Linked DNA regions of Homo sapiens: regions 1, 2 and 3 are each linked to region 4. The links are contacts of gene promoters, found by promoter capture Hi-C in human tissues and cell types (Jung and others, 2019). All regions are on one chromosome and are shown on one strand. The core of a region is centred on a gene start or on the middle of the fragment in contact, and the rest is flanking DNA. Distances in the headings are between cores, read along the strand shown.

Region 1 (2,878 bases), core at 10-2,509, 140 kb after region 4:
GAGGAACTGAATTTTTAATTTAAATTTTAATTAATTTAAATTCAAATGGCTGCATGTGGCTAGTAAATACTCTATTGGAAAGCACAGCTCTAGACTGTGTCCTTCTTCAGGCACTGATTCTCTGTGCTTGACACAATGCTTGGCACATAGTAGGGGCTCAGGAAATATTTACTGAATCCAACTAGTGTATATACTTACGGCAATAATCCTGCTGGGCAGATATTACTAACTCTAGTAATTTCATCTTTGTATACCAAAACAAGCCAAACCAAAATGAAATGGAATAACAACCGAACGTGGCTCAGTGAAGTTCAGTAATAGAATTGGGATGTGAATGACAATCTGTTTAAAATAAATCCTCTGACCTTTCTGTTCCCATGGGCAGTGCTTTGGTACCTGTGAGTACATTTGTATGTAAGTGGTTGCACATGCAAGATAGGAGGAGACAACATTTCATAGAACAGCTAATTGTCTCCATACAATTAGACATGCAAAGATTTGCTCGTATAAAAGCCAATAGAAAGAAATAAAAAGAGGGAAGCTGGCACACTGCTAATACAGCTTTAGTATTGTGCAAAGACTTAAAGGGTATATTGGCTAAATGGATCTCTTCTAAAAGAGAAGAACTGCATCATAAAAGAAAGGTTACAACAGCCAACAAATTGGGCAGCTGCTATGCAATTTGTGATTGTTAACTTTCAAATGTTGATAGCCTCTGAGTTGGCAGATGATTAAAATGGTGGAGGTAATGCTGACATCTTCTGGTGATCAGTCACAGTTAACTGGTATTTCAGAATGTTAAAAATTCCAGAAACTGGGCAATCATAGTTAACCGAGCCTTTTAATTTACCATTACTTAAACTTACGCATTAAAAATAGTTCCAAAATTATTTTAAATTTGAAAAAGAAAACATTATCATGCTTCAAAATTTGCTTTTTTGAAATTTTTGAAATCCAACCATCTGGAGTTTTTCAACTCCTTCTCCTCATTTAGCCTAGCTTGCCTGCTGAAACAATCTGATAACATTTTTAGTTGGCTTTCCTCTGATTCACGTTCTATCTCCTGACAAATGATTGCATTATGCTGTATTCTGATGGGACTACATATAATCATGGAGCCTGATACAATCTGTAGAGTTCCTTCCTGTCTGGATCAAATCTATTTTTAGATTTGTGTTGAAGGGTGCACCTGAAGACACGCAGTTGGGCCAAACTTTGGGATTTTGTGATTGCACTGAGTCAGATACTCCTCATTTAAAGAAGTCTTTTTAATTTTTAAATTTTACTTTAAGTTCTGGGATACATGTGCAGAACGTGGCGGTTTGTTACGTAGGTAAACATGTGCCATGGTGGTTTGCTGCACCTATCAACCCGTCACCTAGGTATTAAGCCCCACATGCATTAGCTATTTGTCCTGATGCTCTCCCTTCCCTCACCCCGCTGCCTACAGGTCCCGGTATGTGTTGTTCCCCTCAGTGTGTCCATGTGTTTTCATTGTTCAGCTCTCACTTATAAGTGAGAACATGTGGTGTTTGGTTTTCTGTTCCTGTGTTAGTTTGCTGAGAATGATGGCTTCCAAAGAAATTTTTAAGAGAGCTACAGTTACAACAAACTGGGATACATTAATAGTATCTGTCAGAAATTAGAAGTCATGCTCCCATCTTGCTCAGCCATGAGTTTTCAAAAAGCAAAATGGGACATGGGATTTTGACATACTATTAGTTGGGCTTTCTTCAGAAGGAGCTACACTTCGTCTAGTGATTTTATAGTAAGAATCACATTGAATATTCCTCTGTTTCTACATGGGTAGGGTACTGGGAGTAAGAGAAGCAATATGAACCTTCAGAAGTAGATGAACAAGAGAAAAGAAGCATTTGTATTATGTCTGGTTCATATATAGATTATATATGCAGATATGGGCTTCAGTGGACTTGTAGTGACAGTTGGTAGGAAGCCCATCCCATCATCAAACTTCTCCACTCCCAGGGTTCCCCTTCCTGCAGGATCCAGCTGCCTCAATGGGTCATTGCTCAACCTTCAAGCATTCATCAGTCTTCGATCTAAGCAGTTCTTTGGATATACCCTACTAGGGATTAATTACAATGATGCATACTCACTCATTCTTTGATTCAACTATTCATTCAACAAACATTGTTGAATACATACTGTCTGATATGGTGCTAGGGACACAAAATAGAAGGAGAAATGTTCCCTGACTACAGAGAATGCATTGCTTCATCTTATATATACTGTATATCATTAATGAACCTTTTTTGTATGCCAGGTACTATGCTGAATATTTTATAACTATTATATTAGTGATTCATTTGTTTAACAATATTTACTCAGGGCCTGATCTGTGTCAGTCATTGTGCTGAGTGCAAAGACGAAATGGTACCAAATTAGATATGGTTCCTTGTCTCATGAATAATTGCTGTCTACTGAGGAAAGCAGACAAGTAAACTAGAGATTACAACATGGTTTGTTTAACTTTTGCAATTCATCTTGGCCACTCAGCATTTGATTACCTTTCTATACTGAGAAATCCCTTTTCTTATCATTCTGAGGTGGGGGCAAAGACCTCCTCCAACTATAAAAGCTAAAAATACTGAGTATTTTCTCCTAGCATCCCTTGCAGCTATGTCACAGGCATGTGACACAGGTTTTGCCAATCAGACGGCATCTTGCTAGACTTTGAGTAGGGGCCTGGTACCTCAAGGAATGGAGCAGGCATTTAATTTTTCTGATGGTGACTGTGACGGGTGAGGCAATTTCCTCATCAGAATCTCTCAGAAGCATGGTTTTAGATGTTTTTTTTTTTCTGGTGATTTCTTCAGCCTTTCCAGAGATGCTAGGGCCCTCATTACTCATTTCATAA
Region 2 (2,795 bases), core at 195-2,694, 230 kb after region 4:
GAAGAAAAGATACCAAAGTGTGATTAAAAGGGATTTTATCAATGATTTTTTTGTTCAGACATACAAAATATTTTAAAGGGACACTAGTGTAGTGGTTAGAAGCAAGGACTTCAGGATCAGATGCAAATTCAGATCATGTGCTTGAATAGGTGAAATCTCACATCTTTACTGAATCATGCCTCTAAGTTTATTTTGCAAATTTGTAATAGGACATTATCCTTGTCCTCCATCAGACTGAGGTGGTCTGAAGTATGCTCTGTGTATAATTTCCCTTCAGTTCCTTTTTACTGTCATTGTCCCAGCATACTCAATATTGACTCTAGCTTCAGGTTCCTGGGCTGTCTCATTGTGCTTGCTCTGGACACAACTTCAATGCACTTGCTGTAATCTATCTTTCTTTCTTTCTTTTCTTTCTTTCTTTCTTTCTTTCTTTCTTTCTTTCTTTCTTTCTTTCTTTCTTTCTTTCTCTCTTTTCTTTCTTTCTTTCTTTCTTTCTTTCTTTCTTTCTTTCTTTCCTTCTTTCTTTCTTTCTCTCTCTCTCTCTTCCTCCCTCCCTCCTTTCTCCTTCCTTCCTTCCTTCCTTCCTTCCTTCCTTCCTTCCTTCCTTCCTTCCTTCCTTTCTTTCTTTCTTGATGGAGTTTCTCATTTTCACCCAGGCTGGAGTGAAGTGGCATGATCTTGGCTCACTACAACCTCCACCCCCCTGGGTTCAAGCGATTCTCCTGCTTCAGCCTCCTGAGTAGCTGGGATTATAGGCGCCGGCCACCATGCCTGGCTAATTTTTGTATTTTTAGTAGAGACAGGGTTTTGTCATGTTGGCCAGGCTGGTCTTGAACTCCTGACCTCAGGTGATCCACCCGCCTCGGCCTCCCAAAATGCTAGGATTACAGGCATGAACCACCGTGAATGGCCTGTAATTTCTTTTCAATACTACACTGCCTGCTGTAGTCACTAAATGAATATGCATGGACAGATAGGTGGTTGGAAAAAATAGAGTTGAAAGTAAGGACATCCTATGTCAGTCTCTTGAACCGAATAGCTTTAGAGCTGCATTTCTCCCTTAAAAATGATTCCTTGATATTCCATCTTTACCATTCATTACTGCTTCATCGCTCATGAAATGGCATCTCCCCAAAGGCAGACTCTTGATATTTTTCTTGCCTGCTCCTGGAGAAGTTAAATAATGCAAACTTGTTCTAGTGAAAAGCTTCTGAATATCTTAACAGACCATGGAAATATTTTCTTCCTAACATACTTCCGATTTTATAATTTTCAGTCACGGAAGAGGTATCAGATCACTGGTCCTAAAATTCTCTTTCTTGACTACTTTGTGGATAAGTCTCTTAAAAATCTCTGATTAAAACATGCATGCAGAAGCATAGAACAAAAAGGAAAAAGAAGGAGGACAAAGGGGGAGAAACCTAATAAGGTAGCTGTGATTCACAGAGAAAAGCCAAAGACTTAGAACTGTAGGAGTTTCTTTGTTTTTTGAAAGTTGGCCTAGAGTTCAAACTGATGTACATCAGAGACGTTGTGGAAGGGAGAAGGAGATGAACCTTGCCTTACTACAATGGTGGGTTTCACTGCAGTGATCTCAAAAATCTCTGTTTCTGAGGGAAATTCAGTACACAGGATAATCTATGAATTAAGCACAGAAAGTTCAAGTACCTTGAACAAGGTACGTGAACAGGAATTTAATATATAAGTAGTCTGACTCTAGAGTCTGTGTTTTCAATATAAATTGATTGAATGGATCAATGTGCTAAGTGTTTTAAATACATTATTTTATTTATTATTGAGAGACGTCTTAGTCCATTTGGACTGCTCTGACAAATTACTATAAACTAGATGGCTTATAAACAAGAGAAACCTATTTCCAACCATTCTGGTGTCTGGGAAGTCCTAGATCAAGGCATCAGCAGATTTGGTGTCTGGTGGGGGCCCACTTCCTGCCTTATAGAGGGCACTCTCTTACTGTGTCCTCATATAGGAGAAAGTGTCAGGCAGCTCTTTGGGGCCTCCTTTAAAGGGTGCTAATCCCTTTCCTGATCTAATTGCATCCCACAGGCCCACCTCCTAATACCATCACATCAATGATTAGGTTTCTTTTCTTTTCCCTAAAAAACAAAAAACAGATGTCCCTCCTTCTGAATAATGATTAGGTATCAACATGTGAATTTGATGGGGGTGGGGACACAAACTTTCAGACCATAGCAAGGGGATAGTAGTGTTTTCAGATTTGTCGATGAGAAAACTAAGACTTAAAGAGATTAATTACTCAAGGACACAAGGCTAGTAAGAGACAGAACCAATATTTAAAATGTAAATCTGAAGTTATAGCATTCAAATTTCATCTGAGAGCTTTCAGGTATGATTTATAAAAATAAAATAATAGCTACCATTTCTAGAGCTTGTGTTTAAGCTTTATCATGTAATCCTTACTGTACAATTTTTTTTTCCCATTTTAAAGTTGAATACATTGATGTTTGGGAACATTGAGATGCCAAAGATCTCATAGGCAGCAAAGAGGAGAGACAAATATTTATTATGATATGTCTGACTTAAAGCCCAAGCTCTTCATTTGCGCATTTTTTTTTTTTTGTTGCTTTTATTTTATTTATTTTGAGACAGGGTCTTACTCTGGCACCCAGGCTGGAGTGCCATGGTGCAATCTCAGCTCTCTGCAACCTCAACCTTCTGGGTTCAAGTGATCCTCCCACCTCAGCCTCCAGAGTAGCTGGTACTACAGGCTTGCACCACCATGCCTGGCTAATTTTTGTGTTTTTTGTAGAGAC
Region 3 (2,700 bases), core at 128-2,627, 170 kb after region 4:
TTAAGGCTGTCCAATTTTTGAGTTAGACATAAAAGAATGCTGCAATTGCAGACTTCCTGCTCATAATGTAAAAACTAAAAATTATACATTTCTGATTTATATTTTACCTTTTTGATACAAAATTCAATGACCTAGCTCCATAACACACATTTTAAACTTTTGTTCCTTTCCTTCTTAATTGACCACCTAAGAGTAAAATTAATCCTTCTGGGGTTAGAAGTAGTTCACATTTGGCATGCCTAATAACTTCTTTCAAACTTATGGTTTTCATTAATTTTCAACACACTCAATCATTAGAATCAGTACTCTTGCTTTCCAATTTGTACTCATTTAAAAATAAAAGCATAAAAGCTAAATTCAATATGTTGGTTGTACAGTTTGAGGATCACCTGCAGACAATAACGCCCTTTATTTACAGAGTAGTTTACTTTTCTCTGAGCATTTCAGATAGTCTTGCAAAAGCACTAGTTTCTCTGAGAATACACATTTGAAAGAACAGCCATCTATCAAAGGACAAAATGAGGTTATTAAAATGGCTTTGTTAACTGCAATGATTGTGGCATCAGAAACTAGGGCTTGAATTTCTTTTTTGAAAGTGGAGAAAATTAATTTTCTTTGAATGCAATGTTTGCCCGATTTAGGAACAGCTGCTCCATTTCCAACTTTCTAATCTTTTCTTTATAGAACTAAATAACCTGATGACAAGTTTTACACTTAAAAGTTCTCAGGAGATAATTCCTTGTCTTGTAAATTTTGATACAACAGCAAAATAGGCTAAACACAATAGAAAAGGCATGTGAAGAAATGTTCCATAATGGTCATTAGTGTGGGCTCTGACATTGGGCAGGCCTGAATTGTGCCCTGGCACTGCCACTTACTAGCTATGAGACTTTGGGGAAAGCCACGACAAGTTTGTACCTCACTTTCTTTACCTGTAAAATGGGAGATAGCAGTACTTGTTCATAATCGCTGGGTGAATTAAATAATAGGAGGCATGAAAATATTTTAGAATAGGGCCTGGCTTAAAAATATATTAACATTTTGTTGTATTCACATATTAATAATTACTATTATTTTCCCTATAGCAATCATTATTCTTTTACTCATCTACCACTAACCTTTATTTATTATTTTACCGGTATGCTGACTACTTTCCAAATAATTTTAGTCAGTTTAAAGGAAAACCAGAGGTATAGTAAGACCCAAACCAACTAATATAAAAGACAAAAATCTGAAAGAGAAATGGACCAATTCTGATGAGAATTCCTGGTTGAAGAAAGACACAGTAATGAACATACAACTTAGCTCTGAGAATCTTACTAACCAGGGCAAAGAGGGAAACACAAAGGATTCAACAATTGAGTAGATTGTCATCTAGATGAAAATATTCCAGTTTGTTTTAATTATCAATAGCAGCATAACAAGCTACCCCAGAACCTGTGGTTTAAACTATAATGATTTATATTTTTTCAGGGTTCTGTGGGTTGGCTGAATGATTGTTCTGCTGATCTTGCTTGGGGTCACACATGTGACTTGGGATCATATGTGTAGTTGACGGATCACTGGAGGCTGTGATCAGCAGGGGATGTTTATCACAATATTTTATTTCATCTCCATGTGGTGAACTTGAACTTCCTAGTAGCATGGCAGTCTCAAGTTAGCCTTGCAAGAGGGAGAATTCCGACAGGATAATCCTTAATATACAAGTGCTTATTGAGTCTCTGCTCGTGTGATGTGTCTCATGATAAAATCAAATCATATGACTAATTTCAGAGTAACCCAAAGTTGGAACGCCAGAAGTCATGGTTTATGCGGTCCACAGTCTACCACAGTTTCTTAGGACAGGCCGAATTAGAAATAATCTGGAACTCATTAGCCCCTATAACTTTTTTTTTTTTTTTTTTTTTTGAGCTGGAGTCTCGCTCTGTTGCCCAGGCTGGAGTGCAGTGGTGCGATCCCGGCTTACTGCAACCTCTGCCTCCCAGGTTCAAGAAGTTCTCCTGCCTCAGCCTCTTGAGTAGCTAGGATTACAGTCATGTGCCACCATGCCCAGCTACTTTTTGTATTTTTAGTAGAGACGGGGTTTCGCCATGTTTGCCAGGCTGGTCTCGAACTCCTGACCTCAGGTGATCCACCCGCCTCAGCCTCCCAAAGTGCTGAGATTACAGGCATGAGCCACTGCACCCAGACCCCATAACCATTTTTAATATTTGCTTTGTATAAACAGCTGTCTTCATGCTTTATATGCTTTTAATTATTAAATCTTGCTTCTCTGTGTTACATTCTTCTTCCCTTTACCCCCTCCATAGTGAGACCACCAGTCTATGGCTTATCAGCCTCTATCAGCCAGAAGCTACAAAGATTTTGTTAGCCTTCTGTCTCCAGCAGCCCTGAAACAATTTTCTCTACTTTTTTGCTGATGACCCTCCATACCTTCTTTACTAAAACCGAAGTCCAGCAGTAGTCCTGTGCATGCTGTCGATGGATGCAAACACTTCAGCAAATCTTGAGCTGTGATGAATCACCATTCATGTAGTTGTAGGAGGTGTGAATTAGACCAACTGGAGAAACATTCAAAGTACAGATTCCTGGGCCTATTATAGCCTTACAGAGAGGTCATATGGGACATTCTATAAGCACAAATAAGGATTGCCCTCTGAATTATACTCTCTTGCCCTTCTTTTGCCTTCTAACATTCAT
Region 4 (2,700 bases), core at 94-2,593:
TTAATCTACACTGGCTGTGGGTTCCCTTTATTTTTTTTTCTGGAATCCTAGAGGATGCACGGATACAATTCACCCAATGTGTCCATCTCTCCTCTCCTAAGTGTCAGTCTATAGGTTTCTGACCTCTAGAGGGTAAGCAACTTGCCCGAGATCCCCTAGCTGGTCTGAGCAGCAAAGCCTTTGAACGCAGTTTTGACTCTGGAGCTGCATTCTTCATTCTTATCCTACACTTGCTTGTGAATTCTTTTTCGTCCTTCCAGAATCCCTGAAGCTGTACAGCTATACTTTACCGGTTACGTCTAGACTATAAAGGACCACAGTGTTCCACCTCAGGCAGGTTCAGCGACCTGCAAGTAGTGATACAGCTGGTAAGCAGTGGAAGAAGAGGGAGGAAGCAAGGATGTTCCCGGGAAGCTCGGGGCATCCCTGTACCCAAAGGGATGGGGCGGGGCCCTGGGTCCCCAGGGATCCTGGCTGGAGGTCGGGGCGGGCAGCAGGCGCCTACCTTGCCGCCGGGCGGCGCGGCCACGCAGCGGCTGAGCGAGTCGAGGCGCGCGCTGTATTCGGTGAATTTCTTCTGGTAGCGCAGCGCGGTCATCTGCAGCTCAAGCTGCGCCGCGGCCAGCTGGGCCACCAGCGACTTCTCGCGCTTCCCAGCGCGCAGCGCCTCCTTCTTGAGCGCCTTGTGCAGCGCGCCCAGGCGGGCCTGGAGCGCGCCGTTGTGCGCCCGCAGCGCTCGCGCGCAGCAGTGGCCGCCCGCGCGCTGCTCGCCGTGCGTCAAGGGTAGCCCGCAGCCCTCCTGGCAGCGGCCCACTGGCCGCGCGTCGCAGGCGTCGCGCATGTGCGCCTCCACGTCGCGCCGCAGCAGCACCTGGCCGCAACCCGCGTGGCGACAGCGCGCGGGCGCGAAGTCGCAGCGCTCGAGGTGCTCCGGCAGCTGCTGCAGCTTGACCACCCGGCCGCAGCCGCGCGTCGCGTACGCGCACTTGATGTCCAGCTTGAGGATAAGGCGCTTGAGCGGCAGGACGTGGTTGAGCTCTTTGGCCGACAGGCGACCGCGGCAGCGCGCCGGGCAGCTGCCCTCCTGCACCACCCAGGGCAGCACGCAGCCGGCGCAGAAGACGTGGCCGCACGGCGTGGTCAGCGGGTCCTCCAGGACCTTGTGGCACAGCGCGCACTTCAGGTCCGGGTCCACGTCGCCGTCGAAGCGGTCCAGCTCGAAGCCCATGGTGGCGGCCAGGCCCCGGGGTCGCCGCCGGGCGGCCGGGCGCCCCCTCCCTCCCCACGAGGCGGCCCAGACAGGCCGGCTACGCCGCCCGCGCGCTCGCTGGCTCTCCCCGGACTGAGCCTAATTGATCCAGACTTCCTCGGAAAATGCCCGAGGAACAGGACTCCTCCGGCCGTATTTGCGCGAGCGCGAGCGCACATACATCGTGCCTTGGATGCCTCCCGCCAGCCCCCCGAAAAAGGGAGGAGGCTGGAAGGCAGAAGCGCGTGGGAGGACACTGAGGCTCGCCAGAAGGGACGGGCCAGCCCAGGACGCCAGCCTGAATCTTCTCGGGAAACTCCTTTCTGTTCTCTTACAGTCTACGCTATAGGAGACAAAACGCCAGCCGAGAAAAGCTCGCTGAGTTTGGAGCTGAGGCTACTGCTTTCTCCCAAGGGTTCTCTTCGAGCCCCTTCCCGAACGGATCAAAACTTTTTTACTCCCTTCTCCCTCCCCCTTCCTCTAGTGGCTGATTGCAGAGGACTAAAAATATCTTGGGGCCCGCTATCTCAGCACTTACGGTCTTTATTTATTTATTTCATTCCAGGGAAAGTTACAGAGCCTGCGGGAAGCTCCGGCTGCAACTTCAGTTCTGACCAGAGGTTCTGTGAACCTTCAGGATTTAGCAGGTTTCCAGGACCGGTGGGTGAATCTACCCGGGGAAGTTTTGGTGGACAAGAGCTGCTCGCCAGCTGTCGGAGTGGGAGAGGCCAGCGTGCTGGCTCCATCCACTTCACCTAACACCTCTGAAGTGTCTGCCCTGCAGTGTGGCAAGCGTGGTGCTGAGCGCTTCTAAATCCGTCGCTTTAAAGATCATTAGTACAATGTTGTGAGAGGGTTAGCTCCATTTGAAAATTATTTTCCCGTGATTACAAAAGAAGCGATGCTGACTGCAGAAGTTAGAACTGGGAGAAGACTCATCACCCCCATGATCATGTCAACAACTGCCCTCCTTCAGTTTTGGTTTGTTTTGTGTGTACACTCTGTCATCTTTCCATTGAGGAAACTCAGGCTAGAAGAAGGATAAAAACAAAACAGAAAACAAAACAAAACAAAAGTGCCCTGTAGGGTCCTGTAGGTCAGTGTTTCTCACATTTTAATGTGGTTGCGGTTCTGATACAGTGGGTCTGGGGCGGGTTCTGAGAATCTCCATACTGAAAGCACTTCCAAGTGATGCCAATGCTGCTAGTCCATGCTGGTCCTTGGATTCCCACTTGATTGGAAAACCCTGGCGATCCATAGATCTGGACATTCATTCCCTGCAGTACAGCAAACCTGGCTGGGTAGGATTCAGCAACAGTCCTGAGCAATGGAGGAATATTTTTGGAATTCCAAACTGGGTGTAAAGTTCATAGCATCATCCATTGATTTTATTTTATTTTATTTTTACCTCCCAAGGCTATAGACATTCCTAAGAAACACGCAGTCAGCTT

The links. Contacts are between HindIII fragments. The study calls those that stand out against the background at their distance.
Region 1: a contact is called between a fragment that was not itself captured here and the fragment with the promoter of PDZRN3 in region 4, in 1 of the 25 tissues and cell types used here (aorta).
Region 2: a fragment that was not itself captured here is called in contact with the fragment with the promoter of PDZRN3 in region 4 in 2 of the 25 tissues and cell types used here (bladder and mesenchymal stem cells).
Region 3: a fragment that was not itself captured here is called in contact with the fragment with the promoter of PDZRN3 in region 4 in 2 of the 25 tissues and cell types used here (IMR-90 fibroblasts and aorta).

Annotation. Positions count from the first base shown.
Region 1 is chr3:73,768,040-73,770,917 of GRCh38, forward strand. No RefSeq gene overlaps it. Among named protein-coding and RNA genes, the nearest start is that of LINC02005, 40 kb to the right of the region's middle. The HindIII fragment of the contact is 6,566 bases long and covers 1-2,878 here.
Region 2 is chr3:73,856,609-73,859,403 of GRCh38, forward strand. All of the region lies in intron 2 of LINC02005 (long intergenic non-protein coding RNA 2005), which reads left to right. Among named protein-coding and RNA genes, the nearest start is that of LINC02005, 49 kb to the left of the region's middle. The HindIII fragment of the contact is 3,452 bases long and covers 1-2,795 here.
Region 3 is chr3:73,798,115-73,800,814 of GRCh38, forward strand. No RefSeq gene overlaps it. Among named protein-coding and RNA genes, the nearest start is that of LINC02005, 9.8 kb to the right of the region's middle. The HindIII fragment of the contact is 9,206 bases long and covers 1-2,700 here.
Region 4 is chr3:73,623,598-73,626,297 of GRCh38, forward strand. PDZRN3 (PDZ domain containing ring finger 3) reads right to left here and starts at 1,344. Exons shown (of 10, transcript NM_015009.3): 1 at 506-1,344. The coding sequence starts at 1,228. PDZRN3-AS1 (PDZRN3 antisense RNA 1) reads left to right here. Exons shown (of 2, transcript NR_046681.1): 1 at 1-368; 2 at 1,815-2,700. The HindIII fragment of the contact is 5,146 bases long and covers 1-2,700 here.